Linked DNA regions of Homo sapiens: region 1 is linked to region 2. The links are contacts of gene promoters, found by promoter capture Hi-C in human tissues and cell types (Jung and others, 2019). All regions are on one chromosome and are shown on one strand. The core of a region is centred on a gene start or on the middle of the fragment in contact, and the rest is flanking DNA. Distances in the headings are between cores, read along the strand shown. Region 1 holds the start of ATP1B2 (ATPase Na+/K+ transporting subunit beta 2). Region 2 holds the start of EIF4A1 (eukaryotic translation initiation factor 4A1).

Evidence for each region. The method cuts DNA at HindIII sites, captures the fragments that hold promoters and counts their contacts. A contact is called where the count stands out against the background at its distance.
Region 1: the fragment with the promoter of ATP1B2 here is called in contact with the fragment with the promoter of EIF4A1 in region 2 in 2 of the 25 tissues and cell types used here (liver and ovary).

The regions. Positions count from the first base shown.
Region 1 is chr17:7,646,750-7,652,679 of GRCh38, reverse strand. It overlaps ATP1B2 (ATPase Na+/K+ transporting subunit beta 2), which reads right to left and starts at 1,754. Exons shown (of 7, transcript NM_001678.5): 1 at 1,050-1,754. The coding sequence starts at 1,161. RefSeq lists enhancers at 1,184-1,826, 2,101-2,601, 2,602-3,102 and silencers at 1,695-1,844, 4,591-4,800. The HindIII fragment of the contact is 20,754 bases long and covers 1-5,930 here.
Region 2 is chr17:7,570,696-7,576,282 of GRCh38, reverse strand. It overlaps EIF4A1 (eukaryotic translation initiation factor 4A1), which reads right to left and starts at 3,458. Exons shown (of 11, transcript NM_001416.4): 1 at 3,419-3,458; 2 at 1,975-2,023; 3 at 1,605-1,737; 4 at 1,025-1,164. The coding sequence starts at 3,441. It overlaps SENP3 (SUMO specific peptidase 3), which reads right to left. Exons shown (of 11, transcript NM_015670.6): 9 at 5,519-5,587; 10 at 5,350-5,400; 11 at 4,314-4,910. The coding sequence ends at 4,800. It overlaps SENP3-EIF4A1 (SENP3-EIF4A1 readthrough (NMD candidate)), which reads right to left. Exons shown (of 22, transcript NR_037926.1): 9 at 5,519-5,587; 10 at 5,350-5,400; 11 at 4,804-4,910; 12 at 3,419-3,999; 13 at 1,975-2,023; 14 at 1,605-1,737; 15 at 1,025-1,164. SNORA48 (small nucleolar RNA, H/ACA box 48) reads right to left here and starts at 1,570; the gene lies at 1,436-1,570. RefSeq lists enhancers at 2,101-2,230, 1,693-2,448, 2,449-3,204, 3,711-3,780, 3,901-3,960 and 2 more and silencers at 2,371-2,510, 3,411-3,470, 3,481-3,540. The HindIII fragment of the contact is 10,064 bases long and covers 1-5,587 here.

The DNA of each region.
Region 1 (5,930 bases), core at 505-3,004, 78 kb before region 2:
GCTGTTCCCACCACCCTGGACTCCCAATCCTTCCATCTCAGAGGACACTTCTTCCATGAAGTCCTCTGGCTCTCCCAAGCATTGCTGGATTCTTCTCATCCCAGGGGCTGGAGTTTGAGTTCCCTGAGGGAATGGATTGCATGGGACCCACTTCGTGTAGGCCCCGAATGGGTGGACTGATGGGGACGGTGCCCAGTGTGGAAAGATTGTAAATCGTGTCACACAGTGTCCTCTGTCCCCTGTGTCTCAACGTCCCAGCTTGACCATCCCTCTTGGAAGAATTCCACCCCTCACCTGCACCTGTGCCGGTCACCAGACCCCCTCCACCCCCCCAACCCCCGACCACTACAGCTCCCTGAGTCCTGCCATGGTCAGCCTGGGGAGGCTTCCAAGTCATCCGACTGTCACAGACACCTGGCTGGCTGATGCACACAAATCACCACAGCGACCACTCCTCCCTCCGTCACCGACATGGGAGCAAAACCTGCAGCCTCGGTAAAACTCATACTATCAGCAGCCCCCCAACCCACAAAGCAGTCCCAGAAGGCTCCCAAGGCCAGGCGGTGGGATACAGACAACTTCCGCCGTGAAGAACCCCCCTAACACACCCCCCAAGACCCGCCCCCTCATGAACGTTCCCAGGGTCCAGGGGGTGGGCACGAGCTAAAAATAGACGGGGCTGCGGAGCTAGTGAGAGCCGGAGGGAGGGAAGGGGCGCTCTTTGGAGGTGGGGGACGCCCGTGTGGAGCGGACAGGCCCCGAGAGGGAGTGTGAGCGCCGGCGCGGACACGCAGGCGGAGCTGGCGACCCCCCGCCCGAGGGGGCTCCGCGGGGGGCGGGAAGGCGGCTGTGACCTACTTTCTCCGCCTCCGCACGGCCAGCCGGGGAGATTAGACTGGCGATTCGGCCCCCTCCCAGCCCAGAGCCCGGCAGGGAGGCTGGACGCCGGGGACCCGGGAGGGGAGCTGGGGCCGCGTCGGCGGGACCCTGCGCCCCCGAGGCGTCGCCCCGCGGCTTTCCCCCGCCCCTTGCGTGCCGGCCCTGCGTACCCCAGCTGGTCCCGGTGCGGCCCATAAACTGGTGCGTCCTCGGGTTCCACACGAACTCCTTCCACTCCTCAACCACCTGCCCGCAGCTCTTCTTCTCTTTCTGGATGACCATCTTGGTGGCGCGGGGCGAGTCCGGGCGCGGGGCGGGGGGTTGCGGAGAAGCGGGGGCGCCGCGCGCTGAAGCCCTCCACACACCCAAAAGCACGGGGAGCGAAGGCGGCGCGGGCAAAGGAGACCCCCCTCAGATATGCAGCTGCTGCAGATTCCGGGGTGCACGACCACGCGCTGCGGGGTGCTGGCAGCGCGGCGGAAGATGCACCGATCCTAGGCCCCCCAACTGCGATGAAAAGGGGTGCTGTCAGAGCAGGGGAGAATAACAAGAGGAAGGGGTATGAATGCAGCTTCACCCCCCACCAAACCGTCTAGAAACAAAACGAAATGGGGTGCAAAAACAGACGGCTACAAAAACCGAGCAGAACGCAGAAAAAAAGCGGGGTACAAAAAGGCAGAGAGAGGTGGGGGAGGGGGCCGCCCCGAAATCCAAGATGCAAAGAAGCTGTGGAACGAAGCTCAAGGCTCGCTCCGCCAAGCGGAGACCACTGCACCGGTGGTGGCTCAGCCGCGGGGGTGGGGCGGGGACGCGCAGCTGGGGGACAGCCAGGGATGGGGGGCCCCCCAGGCGGAGGCTCCGCTCCTCAGCAGTGCGAGGCCCGCGGTCGCCGAGCGCGGTCTTTATACTCTGCGGCTCTGGGGGTGCCCGCCCCCTTCCCACCCCCAGAAGCTCCGCCTCCTCGCCACTGGCCCAGGCGACCTCATACATATGTAAATATGGAGAGGTTGGGCCCGCCCCCCTGACTTCTCTTAGGGACCTAGCTGTCTCTCCATTACCCCCACCCCAGGTACTAGACTGGGACAGGGTGGGAGGAAGAGATAGAGGGCGTGTCCGGGCGGAGTAGAGGGAAAGATAACCCCAGAGAAACACAACGGCAGAGAGAGAAGCCGATATATGCTCAAAGGTGGGGGCCCCAGGCAGGGAGTTAGAAAGAGACTAAGATACAGATGCGGCGGAAGAGTCCGGGAGCAGATGGGGCAGAATGTCAGAGGAATAAAGAGCTAGAGATCAAGAAAGAGAGCGAAGAGACCAGCCGGGAGGCTGGCCGAGCCAGGAGGGAAGCTAGGACAGGCCCCGCAGAGATGGATAAAGGCCACCCCCAGAGGGACGTTCCCCTGTTGGGAGCCGCTACCAGTCCCCCAGACGCCTCCTTCTCCAATCTCACAGCCCCTGTCCACACCACCTGGCTCTGTCCACGTGCAGAGGCTTCCCCATCTTCCCATCACGTCTCCCTGAAGCCCTCTCAACACCACATTCCCAGTCCCCAGCACTGCCCTGAGATCCCAGCCCTGCAGCCAGGTCTACTTCGGTTCTCTGCCTCCTGGCACCCCCACCCCCACGTCGGAACTCACCTCCTTATGTGTCTACTTGGGTCAACAAACATTTATTGAGCACCTCTATAGACTGTGTGCTGTAGCCCTGGGGAGGCCAGAGAGGTTACACTGAAGCCACATCTCTCACGGGGCTCACAGTCTAGGGCGGGAGTACACTTGCTCTACATACCACATGTTAAGAATCATTATCTCAAGCCGGGCACGGTGGCTTATGCCTGTAATCCCAGCATTTTGGGAGGCCGAGGCGGGCAGATCACGAAGTCAGGAGTTCGAGACTAGCCTTGCCCACATGGTGAAACCCCGTCTCTACTTAAAAATGCAAAATTAGGCCAGGCGCGGTGGCTCACGCCAGTAATCCCAGCACTTTGGGAGGCCGAGGTGGGTGGATCACGAGGTCAGGAGATCGAGACCATCCTGGATAACACAGTGAAACCCCGTCCCTACTAAAAATACAAAAAAAAAAAATTAGCTGGGCGTCGTGGCGGGAGCTTGTAGTCCCAGCTACTTGGGAGGCTGAGGCAGGAGAATGGCATGAACCCGGGAGGCGGAGCTTGCAGTGAGCCGAGATCGCTCCACTGCACTCCAGCCTGGGCAACAGAGCTTCCGTCTCAATAAAAAAAAAAAAAAAAATTAGCTGGGCATGGTGGTGGGTGCCTGTAGTCCCAGCTACTCAGGAGGCTGAAGCAGGAGAATTGCTTGAACCCGGGAGGCGGAGCTTGCAGTGAGCTGAGATCACGCCATTGCACTCCAGCTTGGGCAATAGAGTGAGACTTCGTCTCAAAAAAAGAGAGAAAAAAAAAATCATTATCTCGGCCAGGCCCAGTGGCTCATGCCTGTAATCCCAGCTCTATAGGAGGCCGAGGCCAATGGATCACCTGAGCAAGGGAGTTCGAGACCAGAGGTCAGGAGTTCAAGACCAGCCTGGCCAACATGGTGAAACTGCGTCTCTACTAAAACTAAAAAAATTAGCCGGGTGCGGTGGTGGGAGCCTGTAATCCCAGCTACTCAGGAGGCTGAGGCAAGAGAATTGCTTGAACCTGGAAGGTGGAGGTTGCAGTGAGCCGAGATTGTGTCACTGCACTCCAGCCTGGACAAGAGCAAAACTCCATCTCAAAAAAATGGTATGCATTGAATGAATGAATGAATGAATGGGAGTTGGGGCTGGCCTCTGAAGGGTAGGTAGTCTTCCAGGACAAAGGAATGAAAGGCACAGAGGTGTGAAGTCAGGAGTAAGCACAGTCTACCCCAGGAGTGGCTGGCTTGGCTCCAGGAGAGAACTAGTCGGAGACTAGTGGGAAAGGAGGTTGGGGACACAGCATGGGTGTGGATTGCGGAGTACCCTGCAGGTTAGACTGAAGAATCAGGACTCTATCCTACAGGCTAATAAGAAGCCACTGAAGAACTTTCAGCTGAGGAGTGGCCTAATTAAAGCTGTATTTTGAGAAAATTAATCCCGAATCTGCTGCAGAATAGACTGAAGCATGGCCAGCTGCATAATTGTCAGGATCCAGTGCAAAATGGAAATGCAGGGACCCTTGTTCAAAACCTAGGGGAAAAAATGCCCTTAGAGGCACTAAAATATAAACTTTTTTTTTTTTTTTTTTTTTTTTTTTTTTTGGAGACAGAGTCTCACTGTGTCACCCAGGCTGGAGTGCAGTGGCATGATATCTGCTCACTGCAGCCTCTGCCTCCAGGGTTCAAGCGGTTCCTCCCTCAGTCTCCCGGGTAGCTGGGACTACCACCACGCCCGGCTAATTTCTGTATTTTTTTGTAGAGATGGGATTTCACCATGTTGGCCAGGCTAGTTTTGAGTTCCTGACCTCAAATGATCCACCTACCTTGGCCTCGCAAAGTGCTGGGATTACAGGTGTGAACAACCGCACCCAGCCTAAACTATTTTCCTTTCATCCATAGTTCTTTCAGCTTCTCATGGTTTTTTGTTTTAGAGACAGGGTCTTGCTATGTCACCCAGACTGGAGTGCAGTGACGCGATCTTGGCTCACTGCAACCTCCACTTCCCAGGTTCAAGCAATTCTTCTGTCTCAGCCTCTTGAGTAGCTGGGATTACAGGCACAGGCCACCATGCCCGGCTAATTTTTGTATTTTTACTAGAGACAGGGTTTTGCCGTGTTGGCCAGGCTGGTGTGGAACTCCTGGACTCCTGGACTCAAGGGATCCACCCACATCAGCCTCCCAAAGTGCTGAAATCACAAGTGTGAGCCACCGTACCCAGCATGTCCATGAACGACCTTCCAGTCTCAGCCTCCAGGTAGTTGGGGCTGCAGGCACACATCACCACACCTGGCTTTCTCATGGTGTTTTTTTCTTTGCTATTTAATGTTTACATGTTTTTTTTTTCTTTTTTTGAGACGGAGTCTCACTCTGTCGCCCAGGCTGGAGTGCAATGGCGCGATCTTGGCTCGCTGCAACTTCCACCTCCCGGGTTCAAGCGATTCTCCTGCCTCAGCCTCCTGAGTAGCTGGGATTACAGGCGTGCACAACCACGCCTGGCTAATTTTTGTATTTTTAGTAGAGATGGGATTTCACCATGTTGGTCAGTCTGGTCTGGAACTCCTGACCTCGTGATCCGCCCACCTCGGCCTCCCAAAATGCTGGGATTACAGGCGTGAGCCACCGCACCCGGTCTCTTTCTCTTTCTTTTTTAGAGATGGGGGGTCTCTTAAAAAACAAAGATGGAGGTCTCTGTGTTGACGAGGCTGGTCTCAAACTCCTGGCCTCAAGCAATCCTGCCATCTTGGCCTCCCAAAGTGCTAGGATTGCAGGTGTGAGCCCCGCCTAACATTTTTCTATCTTCAGCTTCCTGATAAGGAAGGAAGGACTGAAAGGAAAAGGAACTATGGGTTGCCTCAGCCTTCCCTTTCCTTCTATGTCATTGTTGCCAGCGTAAGTGGCCAAAACAGGGACATGACTAAGAAAAGATCTGGTAAGGTATGGTGATCATCCATGCCTCCTACAATGCCATTGCTTCCTTTCCACGTTCATAGCCAAGTTCTGCTTCCAGTGGAGAGTGTGGTCTCTCAGCTGTCAGCACTCCCACTTACTCTTTTTTTTTTTTTTTTTTTTTGAGATAGTCTCTTATTCTGTCACCTAGGCTGGAGTGCAGTGGCGTGATCATGGTGATCCAATCCTCCCAGCTCAGCCTCCTAAGTAGCTGGGAGTAGCCCAGTGGCTACTAGTCTCACCGGGCTAAATGCCTGTCTACTAGTCCACCTGGCTAAAATGCCTGGCTAATTTTTAAAGAAGTTTTTCATAGAGATGGGGTCTCGCCATATTGCCAAGGCTTGTGTTGAACTCCTGGGCTCAAGGGATCCTCCCGCCTGGGTCACTCAAAGTGCTGGAATTACAGGCAGGAGCCATTGTTGTTGAGGTTCCTTGCAGAGGGAGCTTTTCCATGTTCACGTCCAATTCAGCAGC
Region 2 (5,587 bases), core at 2,209-4,708:
CGCTCAGATAATTAATTCAGTTTCTTTACTCTAGATATTTAGAACCCTTAACCTTCTGAAAACTAATTTGACCAACTGCCTCATCACGCAGCAACCATTTTTTTTTTCTTTTTTTGAGACAGAGCTTTGCTCGTTGCCCAGGCTGGAGTGCAATGGCACAATCTCAGCTCACTGCAACCTCCACCTCCTGGGTTAAATTCTCCTGCCTGAGCTTCCCGAGTAGCTGGGATAAAAGGCACACGCCACCATGCCTGGCTAATTTTTGTATTTTTAGTAGAAGCGGGGTTTCACTATGTTGGCCAGGCTGGTCTCCAACTCCTGATCTCAAGAGATCTGCCTGCCTTGGCCTCCCAAAGTGTTGGGATTATACGAGTTGAGCCACCACACCCAGCCAGCAACCAGTTTTATAGAACAGGTGATGCATATCCATGTCCTATTGCACTCCTGCCATAGGACCCAAGCTACGAGGCATGTTCACTCTGAGAAAACTGAGAGCCAAGTGCCTTAGAATGGAGCTCTGCTGTAACTTCTTACATTATCCACACCCAGAATAATCACTGCCCCTGCCACAGAACATTTAAAAACATGCTCTGACATCAGTGTTGCAGCATGACCCAGGAAAAAGTCCAGCATTAGAATTGTGTGTGCCCCAGGCATGAAACAGCTCTGGCTATTAAGCAAGGGTGAAAAGGACTGTCCATCTGCTCTGACTACTGTAAGATCACCCCCACACCAAGGGATCTCTTAGCCCATAGTGAAGGTGCTTATTCAGAACACAGTCAAACTTGCCCAGCCAGCCAGGCTTCACCCAACAGCTTTCCCATTTGACTCAGGAAATGGGTGGAGGAAGCAATGGTTACGTTTGGGTAAGAAATAGCTTTTAATTAACCCAGCAGGTCTCGAGAGTGTTAGGGCACCCATGTCTTCCTCCCAAGGTGGTGATCAGAGAAGACTTCTCTGGTCCTTGGATTATACTCATCATCCCTAAATCAGCCCTGAAGGAGGGAATAGAAGCCACTCTTACCTGCTGAGCCAATTCTCGAGTGGGTGCTAGGACCAAGGCCTGGGTGGCTTTTAGATCTAATTCAATCTGCTGCAGAATCGATATGGCAAATGTGGCCGTTTTCCCAGTCCCAGATTGGGCTTGAGCAATCACATCATAACCTAAACAAATAAATTAGGAGTTGAATGTGGTAAAGAGCATACCCTTTGGGATATTCAAGTCCTAGGTTAATGAGGTCAATAAGCAACCAATGAACCAAGCATTTCATGGCTCACAAACTACCTTCCCAATCAACACAGTTACACAATGGGAACCAGATCAGAAACAAGGACCAGTTATTAACTCATCTAGTATTGCACACCAAGCTGGACTAGAAACATGGCTGTAGATGCAAATATAAGCTGGCTACAATACCACCTCTTTAAAGGAAACCTATGTGTCCAAGGCATGAACCAGGCATGGGCACGGATCAAAAGCCAAGCTGGGATGAACAAGGAGTTGCTTTGTCCCTGGCTGATATGAGATGGGCATCACCAACCAGATGCCACTCTACCCAGGTCAGGGACAGTCCACAATGTCTTCTGGGACTGAGAGGTCTCACCCTTGATACAAGGTAGAATGGCTCGCTGCTGGATGGCAGAGGGCTTCTCAAAACCATACGCGTAGATGCCACGGAGAAGGGACTCCGAGAGGTTCATGTCATCAAAGCTGTCAACAATCTCATTCCAGTTACTCTAGGGGATGCAAAGAAATTAAAGCTTGAGTCATGGAAAAGGTGGAGCTGAGCTGTAGTCTCCGAGCAAACAGAATCTGGTGCCTACTAACAAAAGCCTCAGAGCTTACAACCCTCCTCCCTTTAGGGAAACCAGCTGCTTCTAGATGATCTGGGAAATCAATCAAGAGGCCACTCTAACTCTATACGGCTGAAAGTTGTAATGGGGGAGGACAGAATTCCATTTCTCCAGTCTCACCTCGATGACGCCTTCGGGCTCCATCCCATCGGGGCCATTGTCTCTGGATCTGTTGGTTTAAAGCATAAGTTTTGTCCCCTGCCCGACCGAAGCACTCAGAAATCCTGACAGCCGGGCTCTGTCAGGAGTGGCCTGCATGATGCCATCAATCTGCTGTCCCAGATCCAACTCCCACCAGCTCCCAAAAAATACCCAAAGGAGGAGTTTCTATAAAACTGAGGCATTTGCCCCATGCAGGCAGCGGCTCAGGCCAGGCCACCCCCGACATAAGGGGGTGACCCTTTCTGAAGACAGGCCGGCAGGCGTGCCGCCGCGCTCACGGTGCCCAGAGGTGGTGCTTGCCGCCGGGTCCACGTGGGCCCGACCCAGCCGCTTAAAGCCCAAGCGCGTGCACCTCCCACCGCAGCACCAGCGCGCTGGAAGTCCCGCCCTTCACCTCCCAGATCGGAGGGTAGGACATCCCCTTCCCCCCACGTCATCCCGCCCGCGCCCTCCCCCACTCCCTCCAGCCGAAGCCCCCCCCTCGCGTTGCCCGGATGTGGGAGGCCGCGGGCGGTGGCGGCCTCGCGCACAATGAGCCCAAGCCGAGCTAGCAAAGGGGGAGATTGCACAACACTTAGAAGCGAAGCAGACTGGGGGAGGGGAACGCCTCAGGCCACCATGTGCTCGCTCCCTCGACCACCCGGCGGCGTCTCCCACCCCTCCATGAACAATCCACATCCCGCCCGCCCCCGTCGCGAAGTAGCGTCGCCCTCCCATACCTCAGGCCGCTCACCCCCGAAGGAAGGTGGACCTGCCCATCCGCAGTTTGCCAATAGCCCGGCTTGTGCGGCAAAATGGACCCGCCCGCCCGGCGCCGGGTGGGCTCCTGGTGCCTCACGCGGCCGCTCCTCGGGGTTAGGCTCAGTCCTGGCCGTCAAGAAAACCAGCACACTGAACGGCCGGTTTCTTCTCCCCGACCCGTGTTTTAGCCGCGACGAAGTGACTGGATCTAAGGACCAGGCACCCCCGCCTCTCGCGAGTGGTACCGTCAGAATGCTCCGGAACCCCGCGCGCCGTCCCTCCCCCGGCACAGGGAGGCAACCGGACCTGCCGGCTCTGGGCCACACATAGTGGCGGCCGCCTCCACCTTTCTTTCCCACGCCAGGTCGCGACCCCGTCTCGCCACTCAGCGCCGGGGCTTCGCGCATGGCACCGCCTCGGGTCGAGGCCTCGTAACAGACCTCGCACGCCTGACCCTAGCCGGGCTGTCCCTACCCTCCGCCTCGACCTGGTGGCCGCGTCGGCCGTGGGTCTTCCCCCTCGCCCCTCCAAGTCGGACCCTCCCCCCACCCGGTTCGGTTTCTCCCGCAACCCTGGTGGGCCTCTCAGCTACCCCCGGCGGGCCCGTCGGAAGGGGGCGGCAAAATAAGCAGCCACAATCTCTTGCAAATGCCTTTCTTACCGGGAATCCTGGCTCGCAGACATGATCCTTAGAAACTAGGGCGGAGTGCCCGCCTATCGACAACTTATAGAGCGCCCGACTCCGCCCCGGCCATCGCATTGGTTTGGCCGCCCCGGCCCCGCCTGCCGGCGCTCAGCAACTCGGCATGACGTTAGTTCCTAGTCGCTCCGGCCCGCAGGCACCATTGGATAACTCGAGTGCCTATCAAGGTGAAGGCCCGCCCCGCAGCCTCATTGGCTGGAGGGCCCGCCTTTCTCGCCGGTACGGAAGTGACATAGAAGAGTCAGGCCTCGAGGCCTGGCAGCCATCTTGGGGCCCTGCACTCTCACACGTGCGGAGGCGACAGTGCCTTGGTCATGTGGCTCCGTAGGCCCTATCACGCAAGGGGGGCGAGGTCTCAGCCTCCAGAGGCTTCCGGGCTCTGGGGGTTATCACTTCCCTTTACTTCTGCTCCCGGTCTCCACTGGACTCAAATGTTATTTGTTTTCCCCTGTAGCAGAGATGGATTCGACACTGCCTGGACGTGTGCCAGGGATGAAGGAATCAACAGCGATATCGTAGGGATGGGAGGATTCCCCTGGCTGGATGGTGGAGGGATGGAAGAAAACTGTAAAGGGCTTTGGGGTACTATCATGAATCCTGGTTGGTCCCCTCCCCAGTCCCTTGTGTCCAGTTCCCCAGCTTCCCTCTCGGATGCCCTTATTCTTGAGGCTTATCTACTTTCCCTCCTTCCTGCTCTCTGCTCCCATCTCGGGGATTTGTTTGGGTGAAGACAAGGTGTTGGCAGTGCCTGAGCCAGGGATGGAAAGCTGAACCCTTTAGTCTCAAGAGACTGGCTGGAAGGTCTGAGCTAAGCATATCCACTAATTTGAAGCCCCTTAAGGAAGACCACCACTTACGTATCAACAAAGGATCCTTTATTGACCAGAGCAGGACCGTGGCATTTATATATTTTTATATATATATATATATATATATATATATATATATATATATATATATATATATATATATATATATATATATAAAAGTTTGAAGATCTGGCAGGCAGTGATCCTATTGTCCGCCCACCACCCCCAGCACTGATTTCCTGCTCCCTGCACGGGGAAGGGGGAGGATGACTGCTCCACCCAGGCCACAGGGCCACACTCCCCTGCAAACAGAGGAAGAAAGGGGCTTTTCTGTAGCCACCCCCTGCACATCAGAAATCAACAAGTATTCTCTCAAAGAAAAAAAAATACAGAAATTGAAACATTTAAATATGAAAAACCAAAGGGAAGTGAGTGGGAAGAGGCAAGAGAGGAAAGGAACTGGAGTTTCTTGGGAAGGGACTCCCATGTCTCCCTTCCCATTTATGGGCTTGGGGTCTGGGGTACGAGGCTCACACAGTGAGTTTGCAGTGACACAGCTCCTTGTAGATCTGCCGACGAAGTTTGGGCATGTCCTGCTGGGTGAAGCTGAATGGCTGAGACAGGGCCAGATGCTTGCAGTACTGGGTGTTAACAAAGCAAGCCATGAGAAACCCCCCGTGTCAGGACCTGTGCTACACATTTCATATGAGATGTGTCTCCATCCTTCAGAGAACATCCCCAAAGGGAGCCAGGGTCCCACAGCCTGGGGTTCAAAAACAGCCTGACTCTAAAGCTAGTGTTCTTACTTGATAGAATGTTTTAGATGGAGAAAATACACTGAGTTGGAGGTTAGCAGGGAGCTCTATGAAGGCCAGAGGCCCAAGACTAGAGACCCAGTCCCAATGTGGGATGGAGAAGTCCAGAAGAGAACCAGTGAAGCCAGTGTTTTGGTGTTCTAAAACAGATTACTTCCTGCTCCACAACTGACTATGAGCCAAATGAGGGGATGCATAACAGCCTCCCGACCCTTTAACCCAACTGACTTCAGAGCTAGGGGAGGTGGCCCCATCATCTGCTTACCTGCAACACAAAAGCACCACAGTCACTGTCATTATTCTGCCTGGCCACATTCTAGAGAAGAGAAAGAAAGCAGGCCCTTCACATGGAGACTCCCAGGGGTAGGACTTCAATTTCTGCCTTCTACCACTGTCCCCACCAACACCCTATACCCCTCCCTCAGGAAACTCACCATTTTGAAGTAACCTTTCCAGCCCTGGTGGAAATCCAGTCGGTCTTTCTTTACCGCCTCTGCCTGTAG